2 separate regions of the Homo sapiens genome follow, and region 2 is linked to region 1. Evidence: promoter capture Hi-C in 16 types of primary human blood cells and fetal thymus (Javierre and others, 2016). All regions are on one chromosome and are shown on one strand. Each heading gives the region's core, a stretch centred on a gene start or on the middle of the fragment in contact. The rest is flanking DNA. Distances are from core to core; before and after follow the strand shown. Region 1 holds the start of FAM83H (family with sequence similarity 83 member H). Region 2 holds the start of MROH6 (maestro heat like repeat family member 6).

What was found. The method cuts DNA at HindIII sites, captures the fragments that hold promoters and counts their contacts. A CHiCAGO score of 5 or more calls a contact.
Region 2: a contact is called between the fragment with the promoter of MROH6 here and the fragment with the promoter of FAM83H in region 1, in 1 of 17 cell types (erythroblasts). The highest score is 6.4, in erythroblasts.

What each region holds. Positions count from the first base shown.
Region 1 is chr8:143,731,201-143,738,272 of GRCh38, forward strand. It overlaps FAM83H (family with sequence similarity 83 member H), which reads right to left and starts at 2,579. Exons shown (of 5, transcript NM_198488.5): 1 at 2,491-2,579. It overlaps IQANK1 (IQ motif and ankyrin repeat containing 1), which reads left to right and starts at 2,939. Exons shown (of 14, transcript NM_001381874.1): 1 at 2,939-3,019; 2 at 4,650-4,738. The coding sequence starts at 4,654. MIR4664 (microRNA 4664) reads right to left here and starts at 1,953; the gene lies at 1,883-1,953. RefSeq lists a silencer at 1,432-1,642 and enhancers at 1,519-1,813, 6,565-7,072. The HindIII fragment of the contact is 7,630 bases long and covers 1-4,463 here.
Region 2 is chr8:143,570,612-143,574,307 of GRCh38, forward strand. MROH6 (maestro heat like repeat family member 6) reads right to left here and starts at 2,161. Exons shown (of 14, transcript NM_001100878.2): 1 at 1,810-2,161; 2 at 1,422-1,574; 3 at 1,056-1,210; 4 at 266-383; 5 at 1-46. The coding sequence starts at 2,103. It also overlaps a transcript of NAPRT not described here. RefSeq lists an enhancer at 670-1,519. The HindIII fragment of the contact is 15,945 bases long and covers 1-3,696 here.

The DNA.
Region 1 (7,072 bases), core at 1,329-3,828:
TCTTATTTTAAGACATTCACGGACCCCTGGCACTGTGCCTACTGGACAAGCTGGTGCCGCCCATGCTGCCCATGTGTCCGTCTCTGACTGCCTGGGAGACTGTGGGTAGGTCACTGCACCTCTCTGGCCTACCTCTACTGCACAACACAGCTGAGGGTCCACATGACACCACGCCTAGCCCAAGGTGAGCGCAGCAAACAGGGCTGTGACTACCCTCCTCCTGGAATGGCAACCTTAAGCCCCACACATAGTCCCGGGCCACACCTCCTCCCCATCCTCAGGGTTTCACAATTGGGCTCCCACAGCCCATTCTATGACCGCCCAGTCCTGGAACACTGATCCCTAGACTCCGTCCCTGTCTCCCAGCACCCCCTCCTTCCCTTGGCCTACCTTTGACCTCTTTCTTGTCACTGTCCCTCTCAGATAAAACCTCCCTGGGCCACAGCCCCTTGGTGCCCACAGGGCCCTGCAGGGCCTGCACTCCACATCGCCCAAATCTGGCTCTCCACTTGCTCAGAGTCCTGTCCCCACCAGCCCCCATCCAGGGCAGCAGGGACCTTTCCAGGTCCTGGGCTCGCCACCACCATCCATGCTTGGCTGCCCCACAGCCCACTCTGTTCTCCAAAGGGTCCCTGCGGGGGCCTGGCCTCTCCAGAAAGGTGTCAGATGGGGAGCGCCCAGGGCCCACGCACACAGGGTCACTGAGCTACCTGGGTACCTCTCCCTGGAAGGAGAGCCCTAGGGACTGCTCAGTCCATCCCACTGCTCCTCGGGTTGGGGAGGGAGGCAGGACACCTGTCCCCGCCTAGCACACAGGTTCCTGAATGTTGGCCCTGGCTAGGAAGGTGCCCAGAGGAGCGTGCCCCTGGGCGCTGACAGGATGGATGCCGGCCAGCTGGACTACATGGGTGCTAGCCGGAGCCACTTGGCTGAGAATGTTGGGGTCAGGAGGCAGCCGTCCTGCCTGGTGCCCCTGGGGGTGACATGGAGTTGAGACATGGGAAATACCTGGTGCCACTCAACAGCCCTAGATGCCAACCGGCTTGGGAGAAGCTGTCCCAACATTTCTTTGTTGGGGCACCGTCCTCATGGTTGACATATGGGGCTGGTTAGGGCACACCGCTCTGGTTGTGCCAGGGGCAGATCGAGGCCAACCACATGGGGGTGAGGTGTAGGCCTGTCTGGCTGGGCCGAGGAGCCCACTCACCATTGCCAGCCTGTCTGTAGGGGCGGTGTCTGACCATACAGGGCAGGGGGAACAACCCTGCTGATGTTGTTTGAGGGTACTTCCCGACACTGGGGGGACACTCTAGAAAGGACCCCCACTGTCCCTTTGGATTTCAGTGTCCAGGCTCCAGGCTGTGTGTAATGGGGGCAGGGACCATCCAGACAGTGGAAGCCCCCGTGGCCAGGAGCCCTCCCAGCAGACATGCCTCGTCCTCACAGGGTGATGCCCAGACCTCCAACTGCTTCATTCCTCACGTCGTCTCCTTTCATGGGTACGTGTCTCCTGGGCTATGGACGGGGCTGCAGCCACTCCCGAGCCCAAGATGGAGCACCCCAGTGGCCTGCATGCCCACACATTTGCCTACCAAACGTCTGCCCAAGGGAGGGAGGGCGCGGAACCCACCCATGGGCAATGACTCAGCACGAATCCACTCTTCTGCTTGCTGACCCCTGACCTCTGACTCGAAGTCAGGGCCCTCAGCTGGCCTTCAAGGACCCCATCCTCTCCACCCTGGCAGGAAGTGGGGTTCCTGAGTATCTGGAAGGAGGACCCCATGGAAGGATCTGGAGTTCCTACACAAAGTGGGGTGAACCTGTGCCAAGTTCCGATGGGCGCAGGAGGGCGCGGAGGCTCTAGGCGGCGGAAAGGTGGGGTGCGGAGGACGGGGCTCACAGACCGGAAGTCGCTCAGTGATAACTTGCGGAGTGGGCACCCCAGCCCCCAACGGGGTCAGTGCACCCTACGAGCTCGCGGCTGCGGCCGCTGGGTGCCCTATCCGCCCACCCCAGCCCAGGAACGTGGGCGCGAGGGGCAGCACTCCCATCACTCGCCCTGCTCGCCACGCGGGGATCCAGGCCGCACCCTGGCCACCCCAGTCCACGGCGGCCCGGGCGGATGTCCCCAGGGAAGGGTCCAGGCCGTGCCCAGCACCCAGACTCCAGCTAGGCCGCGAGGGCGGGAGCGAGTCGGGACGGCCGGGCAGGCTCGACCCGGATCCCGGGCCCCTTCCCCCTCGGCTCTTTTCGGGCCGGCGTCGTGCGGGGGCGCTCGCGTCCATATCCGCACAGCGGCGCCCCCTGTCCGAGCAGCCCCGCCACCCCGGCCCCGCGCACGCGGCCGCGCTCCACTCCCACCGCCCCTCTCTGGGTCGCGCGGCCCCGGCCCAGGTGTGGGCGCAAGGGTAGCCCAAGTGGGACCGCGCCAAGGGGCGCCCGCCCCCCGCCTCGCCCCGCCCCGCTCGGGCCGGGGGAGGGGGGCCCTACCTGGCCAGGTGCGCGGGGTCTCGGCACAGGGGCAGCAGGAGCCGACCGCCGCCCAGCGGCCTCGCGGTCCGGTCGGTCCGGCAGCCACTCCCTGCCGCGGCCCGCCCGGCCTGATTCACGCGCCCGCCCCCGCCCCGCCCGTCGCTCCTGCCTCCTGCCTGCCCGGGCAGCACCTGGGGGCGGGGCAGCCCCACCCGCGGCGCGCCCGCATTCCTGCGCCCCGCGCCCGCCGCCAGCCCCAGCCCGCGCCCCCGGCCCGCGCCCCGACCCGCCCGTGCCCTGCGGCCGCGCGCCCGGAGACCCCGGCCCAGCGCCGCCGGAGACCGTGAGGCCCGCACTTCAAAGACCCCGACCCCCGGGAGCCCAACTGTTGACCCAAGGCTCAAAGTTCCCAGCCTGACCCCTGACCCTCGCCCCGGAAGTCGGGGTGACTCGGAAGTTCCGGCTCAGTCGCTAGGAAACGAGCGAGCCCGACGCCAGGGGCGGAGCTCTGGCCTCCTCGCCGAGTTGGGGGAGGCAGGTGCGACAGGTGAGGACGGTGGGGCGGCGTCGAGCCCCGGGCGGGGCCGGGTCTGGGAGCCCCGAGAGCACAGGGGATCCCCTCACCACACACCGGTCTCCCACCGCACCAGCGCCCCACACGTAGACGAGGACCCCGCCCACACAGAGGACCCCCAGACCCCAACCCCCACCACACACACTGATGCCCACAAGTACCTGGGGTCCCCCATCTTTCTCCCTCACCCCCTCACACCGATGCCCACACTTGTAGGGGACTCTGCCGCAGTGACCCCCCCATGCACATGCGGACCCCGAATGACCTGTGCCTCATGTACACCAACCCCCAAGCACAGGAGACTCCTCAGGAAGACAGAAGCCACAAGCACACCGAGTCCTGCCCATGCCAGTCACCCACGAACACGCTGACATCCGCACACCTAGGGAACCCCACCTGCATATGAGATTTCTCAGACACCAACCCCACACACAAACAGGGGATGCCATATTCACACTGACTCTGAGAGCACAGGGGACCTCCCTCACATACGGAACCCTGTGTACACACAGGGACTCTGCAAAAACCAAGCCCCAACGGACAAGGGACCCAGTGTGCACACCAAGCCTCATACCAGACGCCCCCCCATGTACACAGCAACCCCCACACACCACCCCGAGCTGCCCCTGGGTGCTCCAGTCCCCCAGGTCCCCCTCAGGCCCTCACTTAGGGCCCCTCCCCCTCTTAGGCCCTGCCCTACACTGGATCATCTGTCCAAACCACCACCCCTCGCCCCTGCCACTCCCACCCCAAGGACTGGCCCTGCCTCAACCCTTTCTGATGGTCATCAGTCGCCTTTCTCTTTGTTCCTCTTGCCATGTGATCCTATTTTCTGTTTTCAGGGTCAGTCCCAGTTTCATTTGTTCTTTCCCCAAACACTCAGTGCCACCCCACTGGTACCAGCATGCTGGAAACATGGGTGGGGGGTCAGACCAGTGCCCAGGCAACTGTGCTGCAGCGGGTGAGGGGCATGGGGCACCGGGGAGGACCCGGACAGGCTGGGGCAGGCAGGAGGAGCCTCCCAGGGAAATGAACTTGGGGGTCAGCTGTGTGGACTAGGGAGAGGGGTGTTGCTCCAGGGCCTGACACCACCATCTGCCAGAGCCGGGACCACATAAGGTCTGAGGGTGTGGAGGGGTGAGTGCCTTGGGTGGGCTGGGGAGCAGGCTCAGGGGTGGGCTGGCTTCCCAGGGCAGTGGAGAGGCATGGAGGCTTCAGCAGAGAGGGCCATGCTCATGATTACGGTGAGAACAAAGACCGGCCCACTGGCAACCCAGCAGCTTGGGGCAGGGAGAAGAGTGCTAGACTCCAGATCCTGCGCCCGGCAGGATGGGCTGAGCCTGGGGCGGAGGGGCAGGCAAGCCACGGCCAGGGGGACGGGAGGTGGCCAAGTGCTCTTGCCAGGCATCCCGGCTCAAGCTTCTGGGCACACACCCGGGGCGGGCAGGCAGACAGGACACCAGCTGGGAAGCCTCAGGGGAGCCCATGTTCCTGCTGTCATCCACTCAGGCGCCCATGGTGTGCCCTGTTCCCCACTGCCACTGCCCCTGCCCTCTGCCACTCTGAGCACCCTCTCCCTGGTCCTTCCCTACCCACCCCCCAGGAGAATGGACAGTAAGAAGGGGAGACCCAAAGCTGCAGCTGGGAAGTGGCAGACGCTCCACCCTGGGCCCAAGACAAGAGCTGCTGCTGGTAAGTGCACCCTCTGACCTCCAGAGCACTGTCACCCAGACACTGACCTGTGAGACCTTCTATGTAGCCACCGAGAGACACCCCCTCTGAGGAGAGCCCTTCTTCCAAGAGTGGCTTTTAGGGGACCTCTGAGTTGGGATTAGGTGTGATTGACTGAGGGTTCAGAGCCCATTCATTCATCTCAGACCTTGAGCCTGAATCTATTTTTTTTTTTTTTTTTGAGACGGAGTCTCGCTCTTGTCACCCAGTCGAGTGCAATGGCGCAATCCCTCCTCACTGCAACCTCCGCCTCCTGGGTCCAAGTGAGTCTTGTGCTTCAGCCTCCCGAGTAGCTGGGATTATGGACGTGCGCCACCACGCCCTGCTGATTTTTGTATTTTTGTTTTAGTAGAGACGGGGTTTCGCCACATTGACCAGGCTGGTCTTGAATTCCTGACCTCAGGTGATCCGCCCGCCTCGGCCTCTCAAAGTGCTGGGATTACAGGCTTGAGCCACATGCCCGGCCAAGCCTGAATCTTATACCCCTGGGGTTGGGGTGGGGGCCTAGGGGTAGCACTCAGAGAAGCCCAGCTTTGGAACACATGGAGGTGGGAAGGGGGCAGGAGCCAGTGGGAGGCGCCTAGATGGCCAAAAATGGGTTTTGAAACAGGAGGGTTTGAGTCCAAGTTGGGGATTCTCAGTCTAAGCATGTGTTCTCTGACTCTCTGCTCCATCTGGGCCATCCTGTGCTGCCCTCTGCCTGCGGCTTTGCTCCCAGTCACCTTCTCCATAGTCACTTCCAGGTTGGATGGTGACAGCTCACCTGGGCTGGGTTTTCCTGTGGGTCAGGAAGGAGACTTCCCCCAGTACCCTCCCCCACCCCAGCCCCGCCTTCACTGTTGTCACTCCCTTGCTCCAGCTCCCATTTATTCTCTATGCTGGCTGTGAACACATTCCAGGTTGCAAATCTGGGGTCCTTCAGCACCCAGGCCTGCACTGGGGTCTGTGCTTGCTAAGAGAGCACCCCATCCTGCTCCCCAGACTGCCCCTCTGCTTAGAGTGGGCCTGGCCTAACACCCCTGGTTGCCAGAGAGCTCCCAGATTCACAGGAGCAGGTGGGATGATGGTGACCGCTCCTCCACGCCAGGCTGGGGTTAGATCCTAGTTCCCCAAAATAGCCCCAGCTGCGTCTGAGGCCAGCCGCCCTCCTGGAATGAGGATAATGGGCACAGGTGCCGCATGCTGCTTCCGCAATCTCTAGCCCTGAGTACACTGCACTCCAATAAACGGGGGGCAGGGCAGGTGGACCAGCAAGGCAGCCAGGAAACTGGGTTGCAGGGGTGGGGGCTGTGCTCTTCAGTTCTGCTACCTACTGACTGCACACCCAGGCCTTCGCCCTGCACCGCAGCCCATACACTGCCCTGGACGGCTCTGGCCCAGCATGCCTGGGTCTGCTGCAGGGACACCTCTGTCCCTGAACAAGTATCTGCCCTCAGTGCCCATTTCCACCAAGCATTGGGCCAGCCTGGGCAGGCTTGCTGTCCCTTGGTCTTGCAGTGCCCTGTGTGGCGGGCACCGGCTTCACTTGGCAGATGTGAAGATGGGCCCACAGATACCCTGCATCCAGCCTGGCTTCCTGGGCCTCCACAGGCATCCCTAGGTTGCTGCAGTGGCCACCGCACCAACACAACAGTCCGGGACCCCTCCCGCCACCCCATCCAGGCCTTACCTGGCCTTGGGTCTGCAGTGCTTCGAAGCCCTCACTCCGGAGCTGCTCCAGGGCCACGGCCAGCTGCAGCCCCTCCACGTGTACCCAGGCCTGCTCCTCCTGTAGCTGCTGCAGCCACAGCTGCTCCTCCTGTAGCTGCTGCAGCCATAGCTGCTCCTCCCGCCACAGCTGCATCTGCAGCTGGACCTGCCGCCACCGGTCCTCCAGCAGCAGCTGCTCCTGGGCCAGGCACAGCTGGACCTCATGGAGCCTCAGCAGTTCGGGGCCCAGGGCCGGCATGGGGTCCCCTGCTCCACAGCCTTCCATGTGCCCAGCAAGGACCAGCACCAGCTCAGACCCCGGAGCAGTGGCCGGCACCGGTCTCGAGGCTGCCTGTGGCTGCTCTGGCCTGGCCACCCTGGGGTGTCCCTGAGGTGCTGGCTCGATGCTGGTCACGTGCCCTGTAGGGGCCACCCCCGCTTCACCCTGAGGGCCCCCTGGGGTGGGGGGCGGGGGCTCGACCTCAGGGCCCTGCTGCCCAGCTGCCGGCTGGGCCCTGCCTGCCCTCCTGGCCCGGGGTTTGCGAACTCGACTTCGTTTCCCAGACATGGCCCTGGATCCAGCGCCTCCTTCACCAGGTGTCTGCT
Region 2 (3,696 bases), core at 911-3,410, 160 kb before region 1:
CCACGCAGCCCGAAACAGCCAGCATCTCCCCAAGAGCACGTGTGGCCTGTGGAGCAAGTGGCCCACTCAGGCCTGGGGCACGCCTGGAGCTGCACTGGGCAGCAGAGGGACAGGCGTGCTGTCAACAGGATGGGGACAGCCTCAGACACGCATGGGACATTCCAGGAGCAGTTACCTAGGTGCAAACTCCCTATGCCCATCCTCCCCGCTCCTCGCCACCCCCCACCCCCGCCCCCACCCCCTGGTAATGGCTGGAGCCACCTACCGCCAGTGCCTGGGGCTCCGGCCCCGAAGCACCCTTCAGCGCCCACAGCAGTTGCACCAGCACCTGCCCATTTACACGCTGGTTACGGCTTAGGCTGCGCCAGAGCTCGGCTGCTACCCTGAGGGTTTGGAGGGGGCTGGTGTGAGACAAGAGATGGGTGGGTGTCCAGGGAATGTAGGGAGTCCCCAGCCAGGGTGGAGGCAGCCAGTAGGACTCCAGCAGGGGAGGGGCAGGAAACCCCTCCCATCTCCCCCCATCCCCAAATCTCAGAGAAACAAATGAAGGGTTAATTGTGCAGACCACAACATAGCCTATCTCAAGCTGAGCTGCAGGGTGGGGACCCACTGGGAGTCCCGTTGGGTCAGCGACAGTGAAACAAACCTGGCATTATTAAAAAGAAAAAAATTGCCACAGAGAATAAAACCAAAGATAACTTCTGGGGCCAATTAACCAAAGAGCCAGGGGTGTCCAGGCACGTTAGCCCCCCAGCCTCATTCACCCCACTCCGGAGCCAACCCCAGGACGGTCTCCAGGGGAGGCCACCCGAAGATAGAAGGTGGCTCCAAGAGAGGAGCCCAGCATCAGAAACTCTGTGGCAGGAGTGTGGGGGGAGTTTGCGGAGCTAAAAATGAGGGGAGCGGGAATGGATACGGGGCATGAGTCATCGCGGGGCTGGAATAAGGAGGCCCTGCCCCTTTTCAGCTCCCTCTTCTGGGGCCAGACTCCACCGCCAAGCGGGAAGAGGGAAGGAAGCCGCGTGGGGACCGCAGGGCCAGGACGGTTGGGTTACCGATCGGCGGGCAGAGAGCGGGGTAGCAGCGCACACACCACGTCCCGCGCATGCTCCAGGGCCAGTGCGCTCAGCACTCGCAGGGCCGCCCTCCAGGGCCTCCCCTCCGCTAGGCTGGGCACCTGCGCCAGCAGCCCACGCACCAGAGCATGCACCTGGTGGGGAAGGGGGCAGACTTCAGCAGTCAGGCCTCCTCCACCGTCCATTCCCCTCTGGCCTGCACCCCACCTCCACCCCCACCCTGATCCCGCCTGGCAGGAGCAGCCTGAAGATGGCAGGGTCAGGCTGCGCTCTCCAGGCCCCTCCCACCACCTTGGTGCCCGAACCGGCAGGATTCTGTAGGGCATGAAGTGGGTGAAGGCTGACCTGGTCCTCCAACCGCTCGCCCCGGGCCTCCAGGGCTGAGGACAGGGTGAGCACTGTCGCCTGGGTCCCTGCAAAGCCAGCCTCCTCCAGGCAGGCAGCCGTGTACAACGCGAGGTCGGCAAGAACTCCCTCCTCCCAGGAACTCTGGGGAACCTAGGGCAGGATGGGTGGGGCGTCTGAAGTGCCCAAACCTCTCCTAGCTCTCCTCCTGGTCCCTCGGCCTCCCACCTGGCTTCCTACAAAATCCCTTGCTCCTCTGTTGCTCACCAGCCTGTTTCACGCTGACCTCCCCCGGGGCCAGCACCGCCCCCCTGCCACCCCGCCTTCCACCTACCATCCACAGGACCCCCAGGCCGGTTCGCACAACATCCCTTCCCTCCCCCGTCACCTGGTGGGGCCCCTCAGGGGCTGGTTCCAGGGCACTGTTGAGGGAGCAGGGCTCGCTGCCAGCTTCAGGGACGGTGGCCCCACGTCCAGGCTCTGCCTCAGAGGGGGCGGTGAGTGCCTGGGTCTGTGGCTCAGCCTCAGGTTTGACCTCCCAGGACTTGGGCTGAGGGCCTGCGGAAGGGGGTCCCTGGGGCTGCCCCTGCCTGGCCCGGATTCCTTCAGTCAGTGCTGTCAGGGTTAGAGCCCCCACGGGAGCCTCCCGGGCCCGGCTCCGGCCCCACACACCCCCAGCCATGGCGGCCCTTGCCTGCAGCACCTGCCGCTGCTCCTCCTGCGAAGTTGTGCCCAGGACTGACCTAGAAGCCGCCCCGGGCGGGACCACGGACGGGCGTGGTGGCGTGCGCTAGCGTGAGCTTGCGGGGGCTGGGGAGCCACACGGACGTGCCTACAATGGGCCTTTGAGGGGCCCTCCTGCCTGGGCTGCTGGAGGGGAGTGGCCACCTGCAGCCTGAGTGCCTGTGGTGTGGCTCTACCCACCAGGGCCCTGAGAACAGGATCCCCAAGAGCTGGCAGATCCACGAAGAAAGGGGGAGAAGGGCCCCCACCCTGACTACCAGCCCCTGTTGACCAGGGAGCTCAGGGCAGTTGTGGACAGCTCTGAGGAGGTCCTCGCAGGGTCCAGGAGTCTGGGCCCCACCCTGAGTCGAGGCCTGATTCAGCCCCCAAGCAGCAGTCAGCTCCCCACTGGGCCTGGGGCTAGGGGCTGGCCCCGCCCCCTGCACGCTGGCTCCGCCCCCTGCACGCTGGCTCTGTCAGACACCTTGCAACAGGCATGACTGGGTGAGCTTGGGGCAGCCCGGAGGTGTGGAGGGGGCAGTGAAGACACCAGAGGAGCGGTGGCCCCTCCAGAGCTTGTGCAGGCCCCTCTGGGTCCTGGGTCCTTGGCCAAATCTCATGTTGAAACGTAATCCCCAGTGCTGGAGGTGGGGCCTGGTGGGAAGTGATTGGATCCTGGGGGCAACTTCCCCCTTTGGTGCTGTTCCCATGATAAGACTTCTCAAGATCTGGTTGTCTGGAAGTGCGTGGCACCGCCCCACCCCTTCCTCCGGCCATGTAAGACCTGCCCGCTTCCGCTTCCACCAAGATGGTAAGTTTCCTGAAGCCTCCCCAGCCATGCTTCCTGTACCTGCAGAACCACAGGCCAATTAAACCTCTCTTCCTTAGAAATTACCCAGTCTCAGGTATTTCTTTACAGCAGTGCAAGAACGGAAGAATACAGCCACTCTGGCTGGGCCCCTCGGAGTGCGCGGGTGCCCTGGGGGTGCCTGGGGTGTGGTGTGTTCTGTCCAATGTGTGTGAGTCTGTATCTCTCTCCTAGCTCGTACTCCCCGGGGCTGGCTGGACTGGGCCTCTGCTCCAAGTCCCCACCCTCCACCCTCAGCCAACCACACAGTGGTGCTGCCCACCCTGAAGCCCGGGGAGCCAGGTGAGCTGGTCTGGTGGAATGCCTGGGCAGACGGAAGTGCCCCAGGCGGTCAGCATTCCCCCCACACCCTTGCCTGTCTGTGCCACCTCAGGCTGCTTCGACAAGAGAGGCCCAGGCCCCCAGCCTCCACTTCCTGCCAAGCCTAGAACCTCTCCCCCAAGCAGTTCCTCTTGAAGCTCACGTTGCCCAAACTGGCGGAACCCTGAGATCAGGAACTTGCTGGTGCAGAGGCAGGGCCAGCCCAGCACAGCCACGTGCAGTGCCACTCTGGCCAGGTGTCTGGGGCTGAGTCATCTCCTGGAGCTTCAACTTCTTCCCCATTCTTCCTCTCCTTCCGTGGGCTGCTGGGTCAGGAGCTGTGTCCCTGACGCCAGATGCCAGGGTGGTGCTGGGTTGGCAGCA